Regions from separate parts of the Homo sapiens genome. Here all the other regions are linked to region 1. The links are contacts of gene promoters, found by promoter capture Hi-C in human tissues and cell types (Jung and others, 2019). All regions are on one chromosome and are shown on one strand. The core of a region is centred on a gene start or on the middle of the fragment in contact, and the rest is flanking DNA. Distances in the headings are between cores, read along the strand shown.

The links. Contacts are between HindIII fragments. The study calls those that stand out against the background at their distance.
Region 2: a contact is called between a fragment that was not itself captured here and the fragment with the promoter of BSN in region 1, in 1 of the 25 tissues and cell types used here (dorsolateral prefrontal cortex).
Region 3: a contact is called between a fragment that was not itself captured here and the fragment with the promoter of BSN in region 1, in 1 of the 25 tissues and cell types used here (IMR-90 fibroblasts).
Region 4: the fragment with the promoter of GPX1 here is called in contact with the fragment with the promoter of BSN in region 1 in 1 of the 25 tissues and cell types used here (liver).

Annotation. Positions count from the first base shown.
Region 1 is chr3:49,550,943-49,556,729 of GRCh38, forward strand. BSN (bassoon presynaptic cytomatrix protein) reads left to right here and starts at 3,535. Exons shown (of 12, transcript NM_003458.4): 1 at 3,535-3,884. The coding sequence starts at 3,661. BSN-DT (BSN divergent transcript) reads right to left here and starts at 3,424. Exons shown (of 3, transcript NR_038866.1): 1 at 3,099-3,424; 2 at 2,606-2,745; 3 at 1-500. RefSeq lists silencers at 3,343-3,642, 3,713-3,922. The HindIII fragment of the contact is 7,009 bases long and covers 1-5,787 here.
Region 2 is chr3:49,414,190-49,418,713 of GRCh38, forward strand. TCTA (T cell leukemia translocation altered) reads left to right here. Exons shown (of 3, transcript NM_022171.3): 3 at 631-2,287. The coding sequence ends at 673. It overlaps AMT (aminomethyltransferase), which reads right to left. Exons shown (of 9, transcript NM_000481.4): 8 at 3,629-3,784; 9 at 2,589-3,529. The coding sequence ends at 3,351. Among named protein-coding and RNA genes, the nearest start is that of TCTA, 4.0 kb to the left of the region's middle. RefSeq lists enhancers at 1,833-2,042, 3,469-4,187. The HindIII fragment of the contact is 4,017 bases long and covers 776-4,524 here.
Region 3 is chr3:49,704,749-49,710,317 of GRCh38, forward strand. RNF123 (ring finger protein 123) reads left to right here. Exons shown (of 39, transcript NM_022064.5): 22 at 1-8; 23 at 236-434; 24 at 786-931; 25 at 1,234-1,317; 26 at 2,043-2,150. Among named protein-coding and RNA genes, the nearest start is that of AMIGO3, 12 kb to the right of the region's middle. The HindIII fragment of the contact is 7,498 bases long and covers 1-5,176 here.
Region 4 is chr3:49,355,482-49,361,177 of GRCh38, forward strand. It overlaps GPX1 (glutathione peroxidase 1), which reads right to left and starts at 2,872. Exons shown (of 2, transcript NM_000581.4): 1 at 2,546-2,872; 2 at 1,695-2,266. The coding sequence starts at 2,797. The coding sequence ends at 1,907. RHOA (ras homolog family member A) reads right to left here. Exons shown (of 5, transcript NM_001664.4): 5 at 3,664-4,901. The coding sequence ends at 4,728. RefSeq lists enhancers at 2,548-3,156, 3,065-3,394, 3,157-3,765 and a silencer at 2,845-2,904. The HindIII fragment of the contact is 32,276 bases long and covers 1-5,696 here.

The sequences.
Region 1 (5,787 bases), core at 2,285-4,784:
ACATGGATTTTTTTGTTTAGTTTTGTTTTTTTGAGACAGGGTCTTGCTCTGTCACCCAGGTGGGAGTGCAGTGGCACCATCACAGCTCACTGCAGCTTCAACCTCCCAGGCTCAGGTGATCCTCCCACCTCAGCCTCCCGAGTAGCTGGGACTACAGGTGCATGCCACCACACCCAGCTAGTTTTTGTATTTAGTAGAGAAAGGGTTTCGCCATGTTGCCCAGGCTGGTCTTAAACTGCTGAGCTCAAGCAATCCACCTGCCTTGGCCTCCCAAACTGTTGGGATTACAGGAGTGAGCCACTGTGCATGGCCCTGGATGGCTTTTTGTTGTTGTTGCTGTTTTTTCTGATTCCATTTTCCCTCTGGTCTTCTACAAGTGTCTGAGAACATAGGCTGGAGAAGCAAGCTGGCACATGTCTGTTGGTTCCATTTAGGCATGTGGATTGATTGTCCTCTCATCTGGCCATCTCCAAAATGGCTGCCATGTGTCACATGTTATGCTGAAGTGGGAAGAAGATATTTCAGCAAGTGAAGCTTAGGGGACTGGGAAACTCCTGCAGGGTCTCTAGGTCTATCCTGTCCCTGGTGGGGCAGCAGTTGGACCCAGGAGGACATGATACTTGACACACCACACAGCTGGCTTGCATAAACTGAAAGATTTGTTTATTCATTTGTCATAAAGCATAGTCAAGCCTAGTGAATTTTCCTGGATGAGTGAAGAGAGCTCATCAACAACCCCTCCATGAGGAGAAACCAGATGCAATCCCAGCACTCTCCCTGTTACTTATTAGCTCAGCAGCTAAAGCCAAAGATCTCTCTGAGTGCTTTTAAGCCTGGTGATTGGTGGGCCCTTTAGAAGCGCAGGTGAGGGAAATGCTCAGAGCGTCATGGAGAAGCCAGCACAACCATGAGCCCCAGAGGGCCTGCTGAAGGCCAGCCCAGGGGATAGGACCAGTCAGACAAGGTCCTGCTGTTGAGGAGCCCCAGTCTAGATCAAAAGGAGGTAAACAGCCTCTGGGACAGTGAATGGAAATGGGAGATTGAATCAGAGCCCCAGATAACCAGAGGCCAATACCATCCCATGGTCCACAAGAGTCCCTGGGCTGAATGTCAAGGGTGAATGAACACAGGGCAGGCATGTTCCTGGGGATGCTCCTCAAAGGAAACAGAACTGGGAGAGTTTGAGAGGAGAGGAGGGGCACCTCTAACCCACATTTTCAGGTCTCCTGGGTCCACTGTGCTGTGCCCTTTGTCACCAGGGCAGCAAAGACCCTGGAGGTCTGCTAACAGCCAGGAATCCACTCTGAGGAGGGCAACTCCCCAAGCCTGCAGGCTGGGTAGAGCTAATTAACCACACAGGAACCAGAGGCATGTTGATTTAAATCTGTGGAAAGCCATAGCTCCTGTGGTTTCTACAAAAACAAAAAAATAAACATCCTTTCCCCTGTTTCAAGTAGCCCAACCCACACTGACTGGGGTCTGTGAAGCTATAACAGCCTGGGTTGGGACAAGGTCAGGCCACTGGCCTGCCCATAGTGTTTGTGAGCATATTCTTCCCCAGGAGGAAATATATGGCACAAGACCGCCACATCCCAGACCATCACCAGGGAGACAACTAATAACAGAGTTGTCATAAGTATACCAGGCACTTGTCCTGGTGTTTTACCTACATCAGGCTGGGTGCATTGACTCATGCCTGTAATCCCAGCACTTTGGGAGGCCGAGGTGGGAGGATCACCAGAGGTCAGGAGTTCAAGACCAACCTGGCCAACATGGTGAAATCCCATCTCTACTAAAAATACAAAAACTAGCCAGGTGTGGTGGTGGGCACCTGTAATCCCAGCTACTAGGGAGGCTGAGGCAGGAGAATCATTTGAATCCGGGAGGTGGAGGTTGCAGTGAGCCGAGATCACACCACTGTACTCCAGCCTGGGTGACAGAGCGAGAGTCTGTCTCCAAAAAATAAAAATAAAAAAAATAAAATGAATAAAAAATAAAATATCTACATCAGCCACTCTACCCTTACAATCCCCCATATTCGAGGAGCTACTAAGATTCTAACTTTGCAGAATAGGAAATGGAGGCTCAGTGAGCCTAAGTCAGTTGCCAAGGGTCCTATCGGGGCTGAGGTGCAGACTCTTTTGGAGCCTAAATGTGCACATGTAGTCACCACTCACGAAGCTGTATCAAACATCCTGCAGCACAGGAGGAAACACAGCAAGGACCATCATCTGCAGGAAGAGAGGCTCTCTTCATCCTAGGTCATCCCAGAGGGGCCAGGCAGTTTAGCGTGAAAACGGGAGGTATGAAGTCAGGAGAAAATATCAGGAAGTGGGGGCTCTGCATTTCCTCTTTCTCTTACTTGCTCCATCCCAGAGGTCGGGAGGAGCAGCTCGGAGTGCACAGGGGAAGGCCCAGGGAGGGTCCTGGCCCCTCCTCACAAGAACTGACACAGCCACCGGTCTGTCCAGCAGGCTGGCTATCAGCATTCACTGGGATCCCTGGATTATTCTAGGTTCAGTTAGAACTGCTAACACCCTATGTGATATATTTCGCAACATTAGGAGAATTGAATGGGTTTGTAAAATGGGTTCAAGTTACTCACGCCTTTCTACACAGTCATGATTTATGACGTCAGAGATGAACTGGAATATAGGCTCCTAGGAAATATTCTCCCACAGGAAAGTACAGGCTTGTGTGAGAAGCCACCACGGCAGACAATCCTGAGTAGCGGGCAGAAACCGGCTGTAAATGTGAGGGAGCGGGGAAGTAATTTGGAAAGCTCTCAGGGTAATGCAGAGGCAACCTGCGGCCCCGCATCGAGACAGCTCCAGGCCTGAGAACCATCAAGTCCTCTTTTCCATCCCCAAGGTCACTCTCCCAGGGCTGACTGAGGTGGCCTCCCAGCTGGCTTCACACAGCCCTGTCACACCTTCCATCTGTGCCCGGGGCGCTTCCTGAGACTCCCAGTTCCTCAGTGTGAATCCCAGATGGTTCCCATCGCCATCTGGATAAAGGCTCCACTCCCCAGCTGGCCTTAAAGACCCTCACAATCCGGCCCGACCACCCAGCACCCTCCCTCTCCTTCCCTCTACGACCTTGCGTCTCTGAATACACTTGTTCCTCTGCCTTCCCAACTCCTATGCATACTTTTGAGGCCATTCTCGGGTAGCCCCTCTCCTCTCCGAGGCCTGTCCTTATGACGCCTGCCCGCTGTGGCACTCCGGTTACCCGGAGGAGAGTTGCTACTCTCGAGTTCACCGAGGCGGAAAGCCCCTCTGACTCCAAAGCAGGGCTCAGCGCGACGTCCCAGAGGCCGCTTCTAGTGGCAGGTGCCCCTCCTCACAGGGCCCTCGCAGCCCCGCCGGCCCCCGCCCGGCTCCTTCTCAGCATGATACAACCGCGTCGGCCCTGGACAGCGCATGCGCGGGCGCCGGCGGCTGTTTCCCAGCGACCCCGAGGCTGGCGGGAGCGCGCACAGGGGAAGGGGGGCGTGTGCAGGGAAGGGGGCGCGAGACGCGCATGCGCAGCGGCAGGCGGCGGCGCGAGCCGAGCTGGGAGATGGCGGCGGCAGCGGCGGCGCCGAGAGTGTGAGCACCGCCCGGGAGCCGCCGGCCCGGGCGCAGCGCGACCCCGACCCCGCCCGCCCGCCTGCCCGCCATGGGCAACGAGGTCAGCCTGGAGGGCGGCGCTGGCGACGGGCCGCTGCCGCCCGGCGGCGCCGGCCCCGGCCCGGGCCCCGGCCCCGGCCCCGGCGCAGGAAAGCCGCCTTCAGCACCGGCCGGTGGCGGACAGCTCCCCGCGGCGGGAGCAGCGCGGTCGACCGCGGTACCACCGGTCCCTGGCCCCGGCCCCGGCCCCGGTCCCGGCCCTGGCCCGGGCAGGTAAGCGCGTGTCTCGGCGCCCGGGGGGCGGTGAGCTGCAGCCTGAGGCCGGGACCCGGGCCCAGGATCCCGCGATCTAGTGTGGACAGCGAGGTTCGACGTCCGGCCGCACTCTGAACCCTGCCGGATTGGCGTGAACTGGGTGGTCGCGGGAAGCGGCCCTTCCTTTCCAGCTGCCCCGCCTTGGCGTGGCAGGATGACGAGCGCAGGGTCAGTCGGGGCCTGCAGACCGTGACTCCGTCACGAACCCCAAATTCGCTTCTCCCCAACGCTCGGGCCTGACTGCTCAGGAGGGGCTTATGTAACCTTAACCTGGTCCCTCCGCACAGGAGAGCAATGGGATGGAAAACGTCCTCCCTGTCTGCTGGTGTCTGCATGTGTCCATTGTGCTGGGCCGAGAAAACAGCACAATGGGAGTGGCTGTCAGGGAAGATAAGTGTCACTGCGAGGAACAGAGAGATGAAAATAGTTGAACCATGAACTTGGTCTTGGGCTTTCCTTGGGCATTTAGTGGCTGTAATCACCTTTGGGGGAAAGGAAAATTGCCCACTGGACACCAAGAGGTGCTTATTTAGGCCCAACAATACTAATAGGATCATGTGCTTTCACCAAGGTTTAGGGAAACATTTTGGGGTGAAGCAAAAATGCTATTGAGTCATCCAGCACCAGATATGTTCTCGTTACCTTATGATTTAGATCAAACCAGTGGAAAAGCTGAAACCCACACAGAATGCTTTAAACAGAACATATCTGATTAAATACTGTGAAACCAGTTTGTTTTAAATGTATGCCAACCCAGGTCCTGCAAAAACAGTCAAGTGGCAATGAAGGCTGTAAGGGAATGCCAATATATAATAAGTCAGTAGACTGAAAACTCAGGAAAACTACTAAGAGATGACACGATAAAATGGAAGGCATTATCTTTGCACCAAATAGGCTTGGGGAGTAGCAAAACCCCCAGGGGGTGGGAGGGAGGTGCTTCCAGCTCCATGTGGGTCTGCTGATATATGTTGCCCTGGCTTTTCTGTGTGGAAGCACATAAACTGAGGACGCATAATTTTTTATTCTTTGGCTGCCCGACTGTGCCTCTTGTGTGTTTATTTCCTCAGAAGTCATTTCTTAGACAACTAACAGTAATGAAAGGCTGTTAGTAGCTTGAAACCTGCGGCAGACAGGTCAGCCTGTGAGCATCCTTTTTAGAGGTGGGATTTGTCCATTTTATACTAGCTATAATAGTAATGCAGTTGGATAGCACACAGCTCTTAGCACTGCAAACACTGTCCATTTTGCTGCATGTTGAGTTGCTGTTTGGGTTTTAGCTTGAGGGAGGCTCACCCAGGCTTTAGTGTTCTCCTTCCAAGGGAAAGCTTCTGTAGCTGAATGGAAAAACACCTTGTTATTGAGAGTTCCCTGTATGGGGAATTTGTCATTTCTCTTCTGATAACCAAACAGGCTGCTCTGCTTGTAGTTTATCAGATGTTGCAGAGCCAATCATATGAAATTCTGGAAAGACCTGGGCAGCTCAGAGGGACCGGAAGGAGGCTGATGTCTATTGCTCATATGCCTTTTTAGTGTTTCATTTGTACTTCATCTGTACATTCTGCTGCAGGCAGACCCATGAACTGCTGTGGGTGAGGCGAACCACGGACTCCTGATGGATTTAGTAGTCACACAATCTCTTACCTGGCTGTGGGCAAGGCTCATACCTGAGCCTGTGGTGCTGAGGTCCTGTGACTATCAGACTCAGGAGGTGAGCTGGCTATTTGTCCCCAAAGCTCAGAACCAGAGACCATTAGGAGGTGGGATTTACTCCTCCAGCTGATATTCATTTTATCATAGCACCTCAGCTGAGCAGCAGCTCCATGGCTTATCTCTCCTTTAGTATTGCAATGGCTTCTACTTC
Region 2 (4,524 bases), core at 1,534-4,033, 140 kb before region 1:
CAGATCACGCCACTGCACTCCAGACTGGGCATCAGAGTGAGACTCTGTCTCAAAAAAAATAACAGGCCGGGCATGGTGGCTCACGCCTGTTCCTAGCACTTTGGGAGACTGAGGAGGGTAGATCACCTGAGGCCAGGAGTTTGAGACCAGCCTGGCCAACATGGCGAAACCCCGTCTTCACTAAAAATACAAAAACTAGCTGGGTGTGGTGGCGGGCGCCTGTAATCCCAGCTACTTGGGAGGCTGAGGCAGGAAAATTGCTTGAACCCGGGAGGTGGAGGCTGCAGTGAGCTGAGATCTTGCCATTGCACCCCAACCTGGGCAACAAGAGTGAAACTCCGTCTCAAAAAAAGAAAAGTAATAACAATAGTAATAAATAAAAAGAATAAAAAAACTAGAGAAGGATGGCAATGCCGTACTAACATGGAGAACCAGGAAGAAGAATGAGTCTGCAGGGAGAAGGTGCTGGGCCCAGGGTGGGCTGTGGGAGACCAGCAGAGAGGTCTAGATTGTTATGTGACCTTACTGAGCCTAGCTCAGCCCCCAAGAAGGAGCTTGGGAGAGCCAATTTCAGCAACTGTTCTGCCCATGGAATAACCACTCTCTCTTCTCTCTCTCCATCACTTTCAGGGAAATGGCAGCAAACGAACCTCTCAAAACCCACAGAGAATAAGGGAAGGCAGCAGAGGGTCTCCAAGGGCATCACTGGGTCTGCTGGCTTCTACACTGGGTTCTGCTACTCCCCAGACCTCAGGGACAACTGCCGGGGGTTCAGGGTTGGTAGCAGGGAGTACCCAGTGCCTACAGGGCTGGGCCTCTTCTGCCTCTTAAGCCTGCTCCCTCACCCAGGCACTGGGCAAGTGAAGAGTTTGCCTGTACTCTTATCTGGGTGCCTTAAGGAGAGAGATTGTGTTCTTCCTCTCTCAGGGGTGATAACTCAGGAAGCCTCTGGGTTGGGAAGACCATCAGTTCTTTTGTCTTAGGTTTCTTTTCCTGTCCCTCTTCCATCCCCAAGATGTGACCCCATAAAAATTTTTCCTGAGTTGGCCAGGCATGGTGGCTCACGCCTGTAATCCCAACACTTTGGGAGGCTGAGGCAGGCAGATCACGAGGTCAGGAGTTCGAGACCAGCCTGACCAACATGGTGAAAACCCCATCTCTACTAAAAATACAAAAATTAGCCGGGTGTGGTGGCACACACCAGTAATCCCAGCTACTCAGGAGGCTGAAGCAGGAGATTTGCTTGAACCTGGGAGGCAGAGGTTGCAGTGAGCCAAGATTGCGCCGTTGTACTCCAGCCTGGGCAACAGAGCAAGACCCATCTCAAAAAAAAAATTTTTTTCCTGAGAGGAAGCCTGAGGTTGACCAGCTCTGGGGTTTGTAAGGCAGGTCTGTTTTCTCCTAGGCCCTGAGTTTTCTGAATCTCTGGTTTTGCTTTGTTGGCAAGGAGCCAGGGAATCCTGACCTGAGCCAGACCTTAAGCTCTATGGTTATTTAGCTGGCCATTCAGGTATAAGGCAGGGTGGTGTACCTGCTGGCACTATCCAGATGGAGGCACCAAACACCCACATACCTGGCCCAACCAGACTTCTCCCGTGAGCCAGGCAAAGGAAATTGTCATCTGCCAACTGTCCTACTCATATTCCTCTCAGTCCTTCTTGGGGGTAAGCTGATTACCTGAAGGACAGCTGAACCCCTGGGGTAGCCTCCTATCCACCACTGCTTAAGTGCCTATGGGAATGTGGGTCTGCACCTTGTCCCCTCATAGGATGGTACCAAGCATTTAGTGCACAGTGGCCCCATCATAGCCTGCAGCCTCATCATTTCCCATCTGGACCTGGTACAAATGCACGTCACAGGCTCAGCTCCTCCCCACTAGCATTTTCTCTACCTTCAAGAACCAGGCAGCCCTGCCATGTCACAATAGGCCAGGGGAGTTTCCAAAGATGTGGGTGGCAAATGCCCCTATAGAAACACCAGTACCTGAAAGCACTGTAGCCCTGGACCTGCCTCCTTCCCTCGGGGCCATACTTCTGTTTCCATCTGCTGGGCCACCAGCCACTTTAGTGACCCCTGCCTACTTCCTTCCTGTTGGATATCATACTTCCATCTGGCTGCCTTTGCTTAAGCCATCTTTGTGGTAGAGGGGCCCTGGAATTGCAGCTGTACTGAGGATGATGTTATTCACAGCCCCTGGCCCACCCACTAATACTACTGCACAGAGTCAGGATCTCACATTTCACCCCAGGCTCAACTGAGGATGTGGCTTATTAAACACGGAAGTGCATCGGTTGTTGTGGTTATTCAGACAGAACAAGGGTGTGCATGCACAGGGGCAGTGAGAGAGGGAACATCCTGGAAGCTGTTGCCCCTTGGGACCCAGATGCAATAACTTGCAGGGAGGGGAGAGGTGATGCAGCTCCCTGGAGGAGCAGGGATGGGGTGCCCAACAGGGGCAATATCTCCATTTTTATAGACTGGCCCCTTTCAAGGAGAACCTATTCCAAGCTTGTCTTGGAGGCCAGGAAGGCAGGCATTGGGTTGGCATTTCAGGAACCCTGTGAACAGAGAACAATGAAGCTAGAGACTGGCAAGTAAGAAGGAAGTTTAATTTTTTTTTCAGGATTCAGTGGAGTCCATTAATGCATACCAGGGGCAAAGATCAGCCCAGGGTAAGGCAAGTCTGGGAGGAAGCCCACCCTGCCCTACAGCAGCCCTGGAACTCAGAATAGGTGGTGAGTCTGCCATGGTTTGCTACTGGGCAGCACACTAGACCAACTTGGGAATGTGGAAGAGTGAGTCTATGTTCCCTCAGCCATCCCCAAGTTTACACACAGGCATAGCAGCCCTACTGTGAGTCAGCAATCATTCCTGACTTGCAGTAAGGACAATTTGCATTTACGGAAAGCAAACTGGAGGGGGTAGCCTAAGTCCGCACTGCCCATGTTATTACCCTTTGCAATGTGAAAAACCATGGTGAGGTAGGTTGGGCAGGTTTTATCCTCTCCACAAAGGTGAGCCTTTGCTCCACAGCCAGCACCTGGCAGAGTGGGAGAGATGGCAGAACCAAAGCTTCTCATTACCCTCCAGCAGGCAAGAGTAGGTCAGTGGGATCATGGACTGAAACAAGACATTGTGTGAGCTGGTCCGTCACTCAGAAGCAGGGTCCTGAAGGAAGCTGGAATGGCATGAGTTAGGTGGGGGGAATAGGTGGTGTGGCCCCTCAACCAGACAATTAGAATCAGCCTCCACCTTAACTGCCCACCCCCAGTGAGTTCTGCCTCAGCTTCTTGACTAACCCCTTGTAGGGGCAAAACTCCTGGAAGGGACAGCCCCACCCTGAGCCAGCTTCACTTGAGGGTATAGTAGTTTGTGGGCACAAAGGGCATCTTGCTGACTACAGCCATCTGCTGCTTCCGCCGCACCTCTACCAGCAGCATTGTCCCTGGACGACTGTACTCGCAGGGCACATAACCCATCGCCACATTCTTCTTCAGAGAGGGGGAGGGGCAGCCACTAGTCACAGTACCTGTCAAGCAAGCATAAGCCACGCATCAGCACCACCCTGCCAGTGCCCCCACCCTCCTGGGAAGAGACAAGGGTTTCCCAGCTTCCCTGGTCCACCTACCAATCTTGGTACCCTCCATGTTCAGGATGGGACTGTGTGCCCGCATGGGGGCCCCCTCACACATCAACCCCACACGCCTCCGCTGCACCCTGCCCTTCAGCTGGGGAACAATGACCTTGGCTCCAGGGAAGTCCATAGCAGCTCGGCGGCGCTTCCCTGGAGAATGACACATGAGACATAAGCCACAGCCCATAGAAGCCCTGGCCACAGGAGGTCCTTATGAGGTCCTCAAGTAACACACTATCTAGCATCAAGGCCCCTTTGCTTGGGCTACTCCAGGCTCTATTCCTCCCTTCACTGCCGTCAGCCAACCAACCACCTCCTATCCCCTGGAGGCCATGCTGCCCACCTGCCGAGCGTCTTCAGTTTCTTTTTTTTTTTTTTGAGATGGAGTCACTCTGTCGCCCAGGCCTAGAATGCAGTGGCACGATCTCAGCTCACTGCAAACTCTGCCTCCCAGGTTCAAGCAATTTACCTGCCTCAGTCTCCCGAGTAGCTGGGATAACAGGCACCCGCCACCACGCCTGGCTAATTTTTATATTTTCAGTAGAGACGGGGTCTCACCATGTTGGCCAGGCTATTCTCGAATTCCTGACCTCATGATCCACCCACCTTGGCCTCCCAAAGTGCTGGGATTACAGGTGTGAGCCACCATGCCCGGCAGCATCTTCAGTTTCTTTTTTTTTTTTTTTTTTTTTTTTGAGACGGGGTCTCGCTCTATCGCCCTGGCTGGAGGTGCAGTGGCGCAATCTCGGCTCACTGCAAACTCCGCCGCCCAGGTTCATGCCATTCTCCTGCCTCAGCCTCCCGAGTAGCTGGGACTACAGGCGCCCGCCACAATGCCCAGCTAATTTTTTTTTTGTATTTTTAGTAGAGACGGGGTTTCACCATGTTAG
Region 3 (5,569 bases), core at 178-2,677, 150 kb after region 1:
TGGCCCAGGTGCCGCAGTGGGGGCAGGCGGTGGGATTTGTGTTGGGCTTATCCTGTATCTTATGGGCAGGGGTCTCATCCAGGGCCACTTCCCGCTCCATGCAGGCAAAGGGTTTCTCACTGGGCTGGTGCCTTGCTGTGGGTGGAGGCATGGACCCTCCCTCACAATTCTGCAGCCCCGTGGGCCAAGGGAACCCTGAGCCAGCCCTGGTCCTGGCCGCCTTTCTTCACTGCAGCGCCCCATGCAGGCCCTGGCTGTTGGGGGGCCACTGCCCCTGCCCCGGCCCGGCTGGCTCAGTTCTCCAACTTTGGGCCGAGCCAACCGCTTCCTCAGCACAGCGGCTGTGAGCCTCATGACCCCACGGCGGCCTCTGAGCACCTCGGAGAAAGTGAAGGTCCGCACGCTGAGCGTGGAGCAGAGGACCCGTGAGGACAGTAGGTGCTTGGTGGGGTCAGGCAGGTCCCCGAAGGACCCTTCCACAGTGTACAGTCCCCGATCCGGGCAAAGCCAAAATACACCCCATGCCCTCCCAGCCCTGTGGCCTGGCAGCATCCCAGGAGTGCAGGAAGCACACTCCGAGGGCAGGAGATCAATGCCGCAGAAATAGGTCCTGGCACCGCAGGCCTTGCCCTGCACTCCACCCCTACCCCCATGCCCCCATGGGCTCCCCGCGGGTCCCTCCTTGGGCACAGGAATGGGAGAGATGATTTCCTCTCCTGCTGTGAGGCAGGCTCAGGAGAGCCGGGATGGCCCTACCCTTGACCCTTCCCTCCCCAACTCCCCAGTTGAAGGCAGCCACTGGAATGAGGGCTTGCTGCTGGGGCGGCCCCCCGAGGAGCCTGAGCAGCCCCTCACCGAGAACTCGCTGCTGGAAGTCCTGGATGGGGCGGTCATGATGTACAACCTCAGCGTACACCAGCAGCTGGGCAAGGTCGTGCACTCTTGGACCCCGCATTGGGTGGCGGGTGTTGTGCGTGTTTGGTTGTGTGTGTATTCCTGTGTGCACATGGGCCCGCAGGGCTGCCTGTTCAAGACCGTGCATGGGAGCACATGCCTCAGCGAGGCTGGTTTCTGCTCCTGCTGCCTCAGTCTGACCTGCTGACTGTTGTGGGAATGGGACCGCCCTGGGCCTAAGGTTGGGACCTTGGCAGGGCTGGGGTCCAGACTGGGTCTGAAGAAGCCTGGATGAAGTGCCCAAGGGGCACTCTGGACATGTGGTCCCATGCTGTGTAGATGGTGGGTGTCTCCGATGATGTCAATGAATACGCTATGGCTCTGAGGGACACAGAGGACAAGCTCCGCCGGTGCCCCAAGAGGGTAAGGCCCACATAGTCTTGGTGAGGGGCAGCTTGCTTACTCGTACAGGTAACCACAGATGAAGTCTGGTTCTGGGGGCTGCCCTGGCAGTTCTCATCCCCACTCTAGCCCTGGCCATAGCACGCCAGTGAGAGTGGGGCTGGCAGCAAGGCCTGGCACCCATCACCAGTGTGGCCTGTGCCTAGGTGCCCCCCACCCCCTGGGCCCAATAAGTGCTGAAGCACACCCACTCTCCTCATCAATTATTCATTGACCCTGAGTGCTTCCTCGGCCACTTGCAGAGTCAGCAGGAAGCAGGGCCTGGCTCCACTGCACCCTCCGGAGCCCTCTGCTGTAGCTGCCCTAGCCCAGGAAGGTGGGGCCCAGTGTGTCCAGGCTGAGCTTCCCTGACAGCCCCCACCCACCCCGACCTGTCAGCAGATCCCTGGGTCTGGCAGCTGGGGGAGCAGCGGTTCTGGCATCAGGTCCCTGGGTGCTCTGGCCAGCGGCTCACAGACCCCCAGCTGGGCCTCACTTCCATGTCATGAGGGGACCACCATGGCCTTGTTCTGAGGCTGGCTCAGGGTCACCAGAGGGTCAGTGGCAGAAGAAGGTTTTGAAAAATGGAGCCCAATCCCTTGCCTGCTCCAGGCACTAGAGGGCCCTTCCTAGGCTGCCTGCAGGATCAGGGTGGACCTGGGTATGGGGCCATGTCTTGATTGTCCTCCTTTCCCCTTGGGTGGCAGAGGAAGGACATCCTTGCAGAGTTGACCAAGAGCCAGAAGGTTTTCTCAGAAAAGCTGGACCACCTGAGCCGCCGTCTTGCCTGGGTCCATGCCACTGTCTACTCCCAGGTGTGCTGGTATTGCAGCTGCCCCTTCCCGACCTCACTGTCTGGCCACGGGTCTAGCAAGATTGTGCCAGGGCCCTTGATGCCCCCACCCTCTCAGGCCTCTGGCACACACATGTCCCTTCCCACACTTCAGACTCCATCACCCCATGCCATGTCCCCTGTACCCCTCATGCTCTGTGGACTGAGGAAGCGCAGTTTCTGGACCTCCAGTTCGCCTCATAGACCTGTCCTTCGAGGAACAAACTCTGTCTGTCTGCCTCCCCTGCTCCCACCCCCTCCCAGTTTCTTGGCCCCCGTCCTTCTCTCCCAGTGCATCAGGGGCTCTGCAGTCTTTCCCGGAGGCACACTCCACCATCTGTGCCTGCCTCTGTCTGACTCATTACCACCCGAGGCCACTGGCTTGTTCCCCACTCACTCATTCACTTGCTCATTCATTCAATAACATGCACTCAAAACCTGGTGTGTGCCAGGTGCTGTCCTGGAACTAGGGACACACACACATTAATAAGTCAGAAAGATGAGCCTCTGCCTTCTGAAGGCACTCAGCCTGGTCAGATACATGGATGGACAGACAGATGGATGGGGCACTCCTGCTGTGACTGAAGTTTCACCCCCAGGCCTCAGACTCTCTGGACTTGTTTCCTCTCCCTGCCCCTCTTGGCATCTCTTCCCTAACCAGTGAGTGCCCTGAGGGTCTCTTCAGGTGCCCAGGTCAGGGTATCTGCTGTCTTCTTGGGCATACCCCTGCATGACTGGGTGATCGAGGCCTTTGGTATCCCCATTTCTATCATCTCTGCTTGCTGTTTCTTCTCATGGCTCTTTTGCAAAACCCAAACCACCTCCACCTTTTTCCCATTCGTGACTCTCCTGCTACCCTGGATGACCGTGCTTACTGCCCCATGACGGGAACTTCCTCTCCCTTCTGCCCTGAGATTTCCTGCCTGCCCACCTCCCTCAGAAGTTTGGCTGCCCTCTCCCACACTGTCTTCTCAAGACCCTTGCCCTCTCATCTCTCTGCCTTTTTTTAGTTATGCTAAAATATGTGTGACATAAAATGTACCATCCTAGCTGTGTTTTTTTTGTTTTGTTTTGTTTTGTGTTTTTTTTGAGACAGAGTCTCACTCTGTTGCCCAGGCTGGACTGCAATGGCATGATCTTGGCTCACTGCAACCTCTGTCTCCCGGGTTCAAGCAGTTCTCCTGGATTATAGATGTGCTACCGCGCCCAGCTACTTTTTGTATTTTTTGGTAGAGACAGGGTTTCACTTTGTTGGCGTGGCTGGTCTCAAACTCCTGGCCTCATGTGATCCTGCCACCTCGGCCTCCCAAAGTGCTGGGGTTACAGGCGTGCGCCACTGTGCCCGGTCACCCATCATAGCCATTTTTAAGTGTTAAGTCTATTCACATTGTCGTGCAGCCAATCTCCACACTCATTTCATCTTGCAAAACTGATACTCCGTGCCTGTTGAACAAAACCTCCTGTCCTCCCTTCCCCAGCTTCCCTGACAGCTCCCACCCATCCCCACCTGTCAGCAGATCCCTGGGTCTGGCAGCTGGGGGAGCAGTGGTTCTGGCATCAGGTCCCTGAGTGCTCTGGCCAGCGGCTCACAGACCCCCAGCTGGGCCTTACTTCCATGTCATGAGGGGACCACCATGGCCCTGTTCTGAGGCTAGCTCAGGTTGCCCCTGGCAACCACCATCCTACTTTCTGTCTCTGAATTTGACTATACTAAGCACCTCATCTAGGAAGAATCATACACTATTTGTTCTTTTGTGTATGGCTTTAGCATAATGTCCTCAAGGTTCATTCGTGTTATAGCATGTGTCAGAATTTCTTCATTTTCCAGGCTGAATAATATTCTGTTGTACGGACACCACATTTCATATATCCAGTCCTTTGCTGATGGACACTCGGGTTGCTTCTACTTTGGGCTACTGTGAATAATGCTGTAATGAACATGGGTTTGCAAAGATCTCTTTGAGACCCTAATTTCAATTCTTTTGGTTATATACCCAGAAGTGGAATTACTGTATCATATGGTAATTCTGTTTTTTATTTTATTTTTAATTTTAATTTTTTATTTTTTTTGAGATGGAGTCTCACTCTGTCACCCAGGCTGGAGTGCAATGGTGCGATCTCGGCTCACATCCTGGGTTCAAGTGTTCTCCTGCCTCAGCCTCCCGAGTAGCTGGGACTACAGGTGCGCACCACCATGCTCGGCTAATTTTTGTGATTTTTTTTTTCTTTTTTTGAGGTGGAGTTTTGCTCTTCTTGCCCAGGCTGGAGTGCAATGGCGCGATCTCGGCTCACGGCAGCCTCTGCCTCCCAGGTTCAAGCAATTCTCCTGCCTCAGCCTCCTGAGTAGCTGGGATTACAGGCATGTGCCACCACGCCCAGCTAATTTTGTATTTTTTTTTTTTTGAGACAGAGTCTCACTCTTTCACCCAGGCCGGAGTGCAATGGCGCTATCTCAGCTCACTGCAAGCTCCGCCTCCCGGGTTCACACCATTCTCCTGCCTCAGCCTCCCGAGTAGCTGGGACTACAGGCGCCTGCCACCACGCCCGGCTAATTTTTTGTATTTTTAGTAGAGACAGGGTTTCACCGTGTTAGCCAGGATGGTCTCGATCTCCTGACCTCGTGATCCACCCGCCTCGGCCTCCCAAAGTGCTGGGATTACAGGCGTGAGCCACCGCGCCTGGCCTAATTTTGTATTTTTTTTTAGTAGAGATGGGGTTTCTTCATATTGATCAGGCTGGTCTTGAACTCCCGACCTCAGGTGATTCGCCCGCCTCGGCCTCCCAAAGTGCTGGGGTTACAGGCGTGAGCCATCGCGCCCTGCAATTTTTGTATTTTTTGTACAGATGGGGTTTCACCGTGTTGGTCAGGCTGGTCTTGAACTGCTGACCTCAGGTGATCCGCCTGCCTCGGCTTCCCAAAGTGCTGGGATTGCAGGCATGAGCCACCGCGCCCGGCCAATTCTGTTGTTTAATTTTTTGGAAACTACCATATCATTTCTACAGTGGCTGTGCCTGTTACATTCTCACCAGTAGTGCATGAGGGTTCCAATTTCTCCATACATATCCTTACCGACACTTCTTATTTTCTGCCCTTTTTTTTTCTTGGTAGACGCAGGGTCTCACTATGTTGCCCAGTTGTCAAACTCCTGGGTTCAAGGAATCCTCCTGCCTCGGCCTCCCAAAGTGCGGGGATTATAGGCATGAGCCACCACACCCGGCAATTTCTACTTTTTTAATAGTAAATCCTAATGGGTAGGATATGGTACCTTATTGTGGTTCTGCATTTTGCTAATGATTAGTGACATTATGACAAATAGTACCTTTACAAGCACTTATTGGCCATTTGCATATCTTTTGTTTGTTGGTTTGTTTGTTTTGTTTTGAGAGGGAGTCTCGCTCTGT
Region 4 (5,696 bases), core at 1,622-4,121, 200 kb before region 1:
CAAGGGGGACTCAAAGGCTGGGGCAGAGAGAACCAGAGGGAGGTGGGCCTGTTCAGGAGTTCTCAGGATGGAGCCAGAGCAGGTCCAGAAGGCCCTACAATCCTTAGTGACCTAAGGGCAGACAAAGGGGGAAAGCAGCAGCAAAGATCACTGCTTAGGGCAAGAGGAAAAGTCCTTGAGAGTTGGTTCAGACTAAGAAGGACCTTGAGTCACGAATTTGAACACAAATGCTGGGACTCCAGAACCTCTGGTCCACAGTCAGCGGGTGAACAGCACTACCATGTCTCTGGGTACCTGTTTGCACAAGCGGAAGCTACACCCAGGCCCTGCAGTCCCCTGCACTGCGTTAGGAAATGGCTCCAAATCTGTCTTGAAAGATTATTGCTGCTCAAGCCTGTAATCCCAGCACTTTGGGAGGCCAAGGCGGGTGGATCACGAGGTCAGGAGATCGAGACCATCCTGGCTAACACGGTGAAACCCCGTCTACTAAAAAACAGAAAAAAATTAGCCGGGCGTGGTGGCGGGCGCCTGTAGTCCCAGCTACTCGGGAGGCTGAGGCAGAATGGCGTGAACCCGGGAGGCGGAGCTTGCAGTGAGCCGAGATTACACCACTGCACTCCAGCCTGCGCAACAGAGCAAGACTGTCTCAAAAAAAAAAAAAAAAAAAAAAAAATTAAAGATTATTGGCAGCAGGGTCAACAGATGGAGAGGCTGGACCTGAGTGGTGCCCGAGAAGCAGCAGCTGGCTTCAAAGACAAGCCCTTATCCTGGGCCTGAATGTGCAATTAATTGCACGTTAAGTGTTGGGCAGGGCATAGTCAGAAGGGCCAGTTAAATTATAGTTTTCTCACTCTTGAATATATGAGGCAGAAACTTGTAAGATCATCGTCACAGCAGATACAGGCACTTGGTAGCAACATGGAAAGATCTAGCCAGATAACAGAATTTATAACATTGCATGAGCTTCCGTGTAAAATGGGATTGTGTGGACCTAACAATTGGAGAGGCCATGACTCCAAATGTGAGTGGGGGCTCATGTTATTTTGTGACAGTCATTTCAGCGTGCAGCAAGTAGTCAGAAGTCTATCATTTGAGTTAGGCAGTCAACCATTGCCTTGTGTCTTTTTTGAAGTAAGGACTTTGTTGTAACTGGGTCTTGAGATGGCCCTTTGCATGTTCTGGTGAAGGCAGAAATGCAGGCCAGGAGCCAGACTTCCCACAAAGGAAAGAGTGGATCCTACACGCTGCAGACAAAAGGACAGAAAGTTCAGACTTGGCTAGGATAAGGGAAGGAGGATTAAGTTCCCACCACTATGACAATGAGGTTAGAAAAAGTATCGCCAGGCCGGGTGCGGTGGCTCATACCTGTAATCCCAGCACTTTGGGAGGCCGAGGCGGGTGGATCACGAGGTCAGGAGATCGATACCATCCTGGCTAACACGGTGAAACCCTGTCTCTACTAAAAATACAAAAAATTAGCCGGGCGTGGTGGCAGGCACCTGTAGTCCCAGCTACTCAGGAGGTTGAGGCAGGAGAATGGCGTGAACCCGGGAGGCGGAGCTTGCAGTGAGCCTAGATTGCGCCACTGCACTCCAGCCTGGGCAATAGAGCAAAAAACTCCGTCTCAAAAAAAAAAAAAAAAAAAGAAAAGAAAAAGAATTCCCAAATGACAATGACACAGGACATACACACAGTTCTGCTGACACCCGGCACTTTATTAGTGGGGAAACTCGCCTTGGTCTGGCAGAGACTGGGATCAACAGGACCAGCACCCATCTCGAGGTGGTATTTTCTGTAAGATCAGGTGTTCCTCCCTCGTAGGTTTAGAGGAAACACCCTCATAGATGAAAACCCCCCCGAGACAGCAGCACTGCAACTGCCAAGCAGCCGGGGTAGGAGGGGCGCCCTAGGCACAGCTGGGCCCTTGAGACAGCAGGGCTTCGATGTCAGGCTCGATGTCAATGGTCTGGAAGCGGCGGCTGTACCTGCGTAGGGGCACACCGTCAGGGCCCACCAGGAACTTCTCAAAGTTCCAGGCAACATCGTTGCGACACACCGGAGACCAGGTGATGAGCTTGGGGTCGGTCATAAGCGCGGTGGCGTCGTCGCTGGGAGCTGGCAGGGCCTCCCGCAGGAAGGCGAAGAGAGGGTGCGCCCCCGCACCGTTCACCTCGCACTTCTCGAAGAGCATGAAGTTGGGCTCGAACCCACCACCAGGCCGGACGTACTTGAGGGAATTCAGAATCTCTTCGTTCTTGGCGTTCTCCTACAGGAGAGAAGGGCAGCTAGAACCCGGGGTCAAGAGGAGGAGAGAAACGTTCTAACCACAAACAAGGGAGATTTTCTATGAGTCACCGGGATTTTGCCCTCCATGCGCAATCCCAAGGGCGGAGAGGAATTTCAGCAGCTACGAGCAACAGAAAGGAAACGAGAGAGTAGCCAGACTCTCCGCGCATGGAGCCGACGGCACCCACCAGCACACCGCCGGCGCCCCCAGCCACTACTGCACGTCCGCCCCCGCCCCGCCCCGCTCCGCCCGGCGCACCTGATGCCCAAACTGGTTGCACGGGAAGCCGAGCACCACCAGGCCCCGGGGTCCGAGGCGCCGCTGCAGCTCGTTCATCTGGGTGTAGTCCCGGACCGTGGTGCCTCAGAGGGACGCCACATTCTCGATAAGTAGTACCTTGCCCCGCAGGGAGCCCAGGCTCACAGGCTCCCCGCCGGCCAGCGGGCGCGCCGAGAAGGCATACACCGACTGGGCCGCCGCCGCCGCCGCCGCTAGCCGAGCAGCACACATGGCGCAATTGTCCAAGAAGCCAGCGGAGCGCCCCGAACAAGCACTGTAAGGGGAGGCCAGCAGGCGCCTCCTTTTAACTGGCCGGCGGCGGGTCACGTGGCACAGGCAGTTTTCCGGGCCTGAGGGTCCCGCCTCATCCGGCCCCCGCCCTACCCGGAGGGCTCGGCCCCTCCTCAGCCAGGAAAAGGCTGGAGAGTGCGCCCGAGCGGGACGCGTGCTCCTCCTAAGCCGGAAGGAGCAGCAGGCATGTCTGGTCTGGCCCAGGCAACCAGGCGGCAGCGGTCCAGGTTACCCTTCCAAGGGCTGGGGCCCTCGAGGGCTCCGTTTTTTCTCAGAGGTTCCTGAGTTAGGATGTGGGGTTTGGCATAGGAGGCTGGTGGGCGACGGCAGCAGCTGCAGGAGCTGCCCGTGCACAAACAGCCCTCCTCTCCTGTGCCATGTTACCGGCAGTGCAGGGGACAGCCAGAGGGATCTAGGCTTCCGGTCTCCCTCCTCCCTGTCTCCAAAGCGGCACCGCCCTCGTGCGGGTTTTCTAACCGGGCAGAGTCCTGGAAGCTCTGCCCCAGCCTCCTTAAGTGGAGCCCAGTAGCTCGCCGAGGCCAAGGAAACGCTGCCGGAGTCCTCCCTCCCTGGCCTCCTCAGGCTGCATTCACCCTACCCCCAAATCTGAACCAGAATGCGGTACAGGGTAATCATTTCCATGTTGTTGGGAGGGACCAGATTAGCTGCTGGGTGGGTGGGAGGTGGGGCACAAGCTAGTCCTTTGCACTCAACAAACCTCTCCAGGGTGAGCTAGGCCAGGAAGTCCTTGCATCCTCCTACCCCCAGCCCTGGAGAGAGCAACACAAACAACAGGATACAGGAAGTTTAGAAAACTGCCTTTATTCTATTAGTAGTTGGAAAAATTAACTGGTACAGAAAAAAAGTTTAGTCAGCTGGAGAGAAGAGAGACTGAGTGCCACCCATGAGAACTGGTGGCTCCTCTGGGAGGGAACCTGGATACAGTGAGGAGAAAAGAGCACTGTGAATTAGAGCCAGATGCTTAAGTCCAGGTGAGACAGGTTATGCCATCTTCCAAAGTGTCTAATTGCCTCAGGCGTGAAACCAATTCCTATTTACTTAGCCCAGCTCCATGGGGTACTGAGATACATGGGGCCGAAAAGGGGTAATATGGCCATCTTTTATCAGAAAAAGTGACAAAACGGGAATTTAAAAAATGAATTTTCCATCTGACTTTATTTCCAAATACACTTTCTTTTTTAAAAAACCAATACACTTTCTTTGAGGATGACAGTATTAGGAAATCCAATTATACAAAAAATACTACATCTAGTCTGGGGTAGATATATTTATTTTTGGTAACATACATTAAGTGGCACTAATTACACAGTAACTATAAGGTAACTAACATGAAACCACAGAACTGTAACTCTGCCACAGCTGCATGAACTTGGGCTTTTCTGGTTGAGCCCATTTTCAAAAAACTGCCCACCCCAGAGCTATGCCAACAAAATCTGTTACGGAGTAAAGCCCTGAAGTGGTGACTCACCAGAGTACCTTGCAGCTGACAGATAATAGGCAGGACATGTTAGTTATAAAGTAGTTACAGCCTAATTCACAAAAGTTACCAACTGTTTCTCTTTCTAGAAAGAAGCAAGAAGTTAAGAAATTCCTTGAATTAGCGCCTGGTGTGTCAGGTGGGAGTGCAGAGGAGGGCTGTTAGAGCAGTGTCAAAAGGACCCTGGTGGGCCAGACGGGTTGGACATCGTTAATAATCATAGTTGGCTTCTAAATACTGGTAGCAAGATGACTTCTGATTTGTAATCTTAGGTAAATTATAGATAAATGAAAAAGGCCAGTAATCATACACTAAGATTAATAAACAGCACTTCAAAATTAACCGCATAAGGGCTGTGCTTGCAGCAAGGTTTCACAAGACAAGGCACCCAGATTTTTTCTTCCCACGTCTAGCTTGCAGAGCAGCTCTCGTAGCCATTTCAAAAACCTCTCTCACTCCATCTTTGGTCTTTGCTGAACACTCCATGTACCCAAAAGCGCCAATCCTGTTTGCCATATCTCTGCCTTCTTCAGGTTTCACCGGCTCCTAGCAAAGAAAAAAAAATAGTCCTTTTAGCTAATAGTGTGGCATACATATAGTAAGTAAAAAGTATTCAAATTCATCTAAAAGATTTTTTTTTCTTTTTTTGAGACAGTTTTGCTCGTCGGTCGCCCAGGCTGGAGGGCAATGGCATGATCTCAGCTGACTGCAACCTCCACCTCCTGGGTTCAAGGGATTCTCCCGCCTCAGCCTCCCGAGTAGCTGGGACTACAGGTGCCCACCACCACGCCCAAGTAATTTTTTAGTAGAGATGGGGTTTCACCATTTTGGCCAGGCTGGTCTCGAACTCCTGACCAAGTGATCTGCCCACCTCGGCCTCCCAAAGTGCTGGGATACAGGCATGAGCCACTGTACCCAGCCTAAAAAAAAAAAAGACTTTCAAAAGCTGTTAAACTTGGCTGGGTGTGGTGGCTCACACCTGTAATCCCAGCACTTTGGGAGGCTGAGCTGGGCGGATCACGAGTTTAGGAGATCAAGACCATCCTGGCCAACATGGTGAAACCCCTCTTTACTAAAATACAAAAAATCACCTGGGTGTGGTAGTGGGCGCCTGTAACCCCAGCTACTCAGGAGGCTGAGGCAGGGGAATCGCTTAAATCTGGGAGGCGGAGGTTGCAGTTGAGCCAAGATCGTGCCACAGCACTCCAGCCTGGCGACACAGTGAGGCTCCTTCTCAAAAAAAACAAAACAAAAAAAAAAAACAACAAACTGCTAAACTTATGAAATTTTTAAACTGACATATGGTAACTACCCCCTACCAAACATAAAATCTCTAATAAA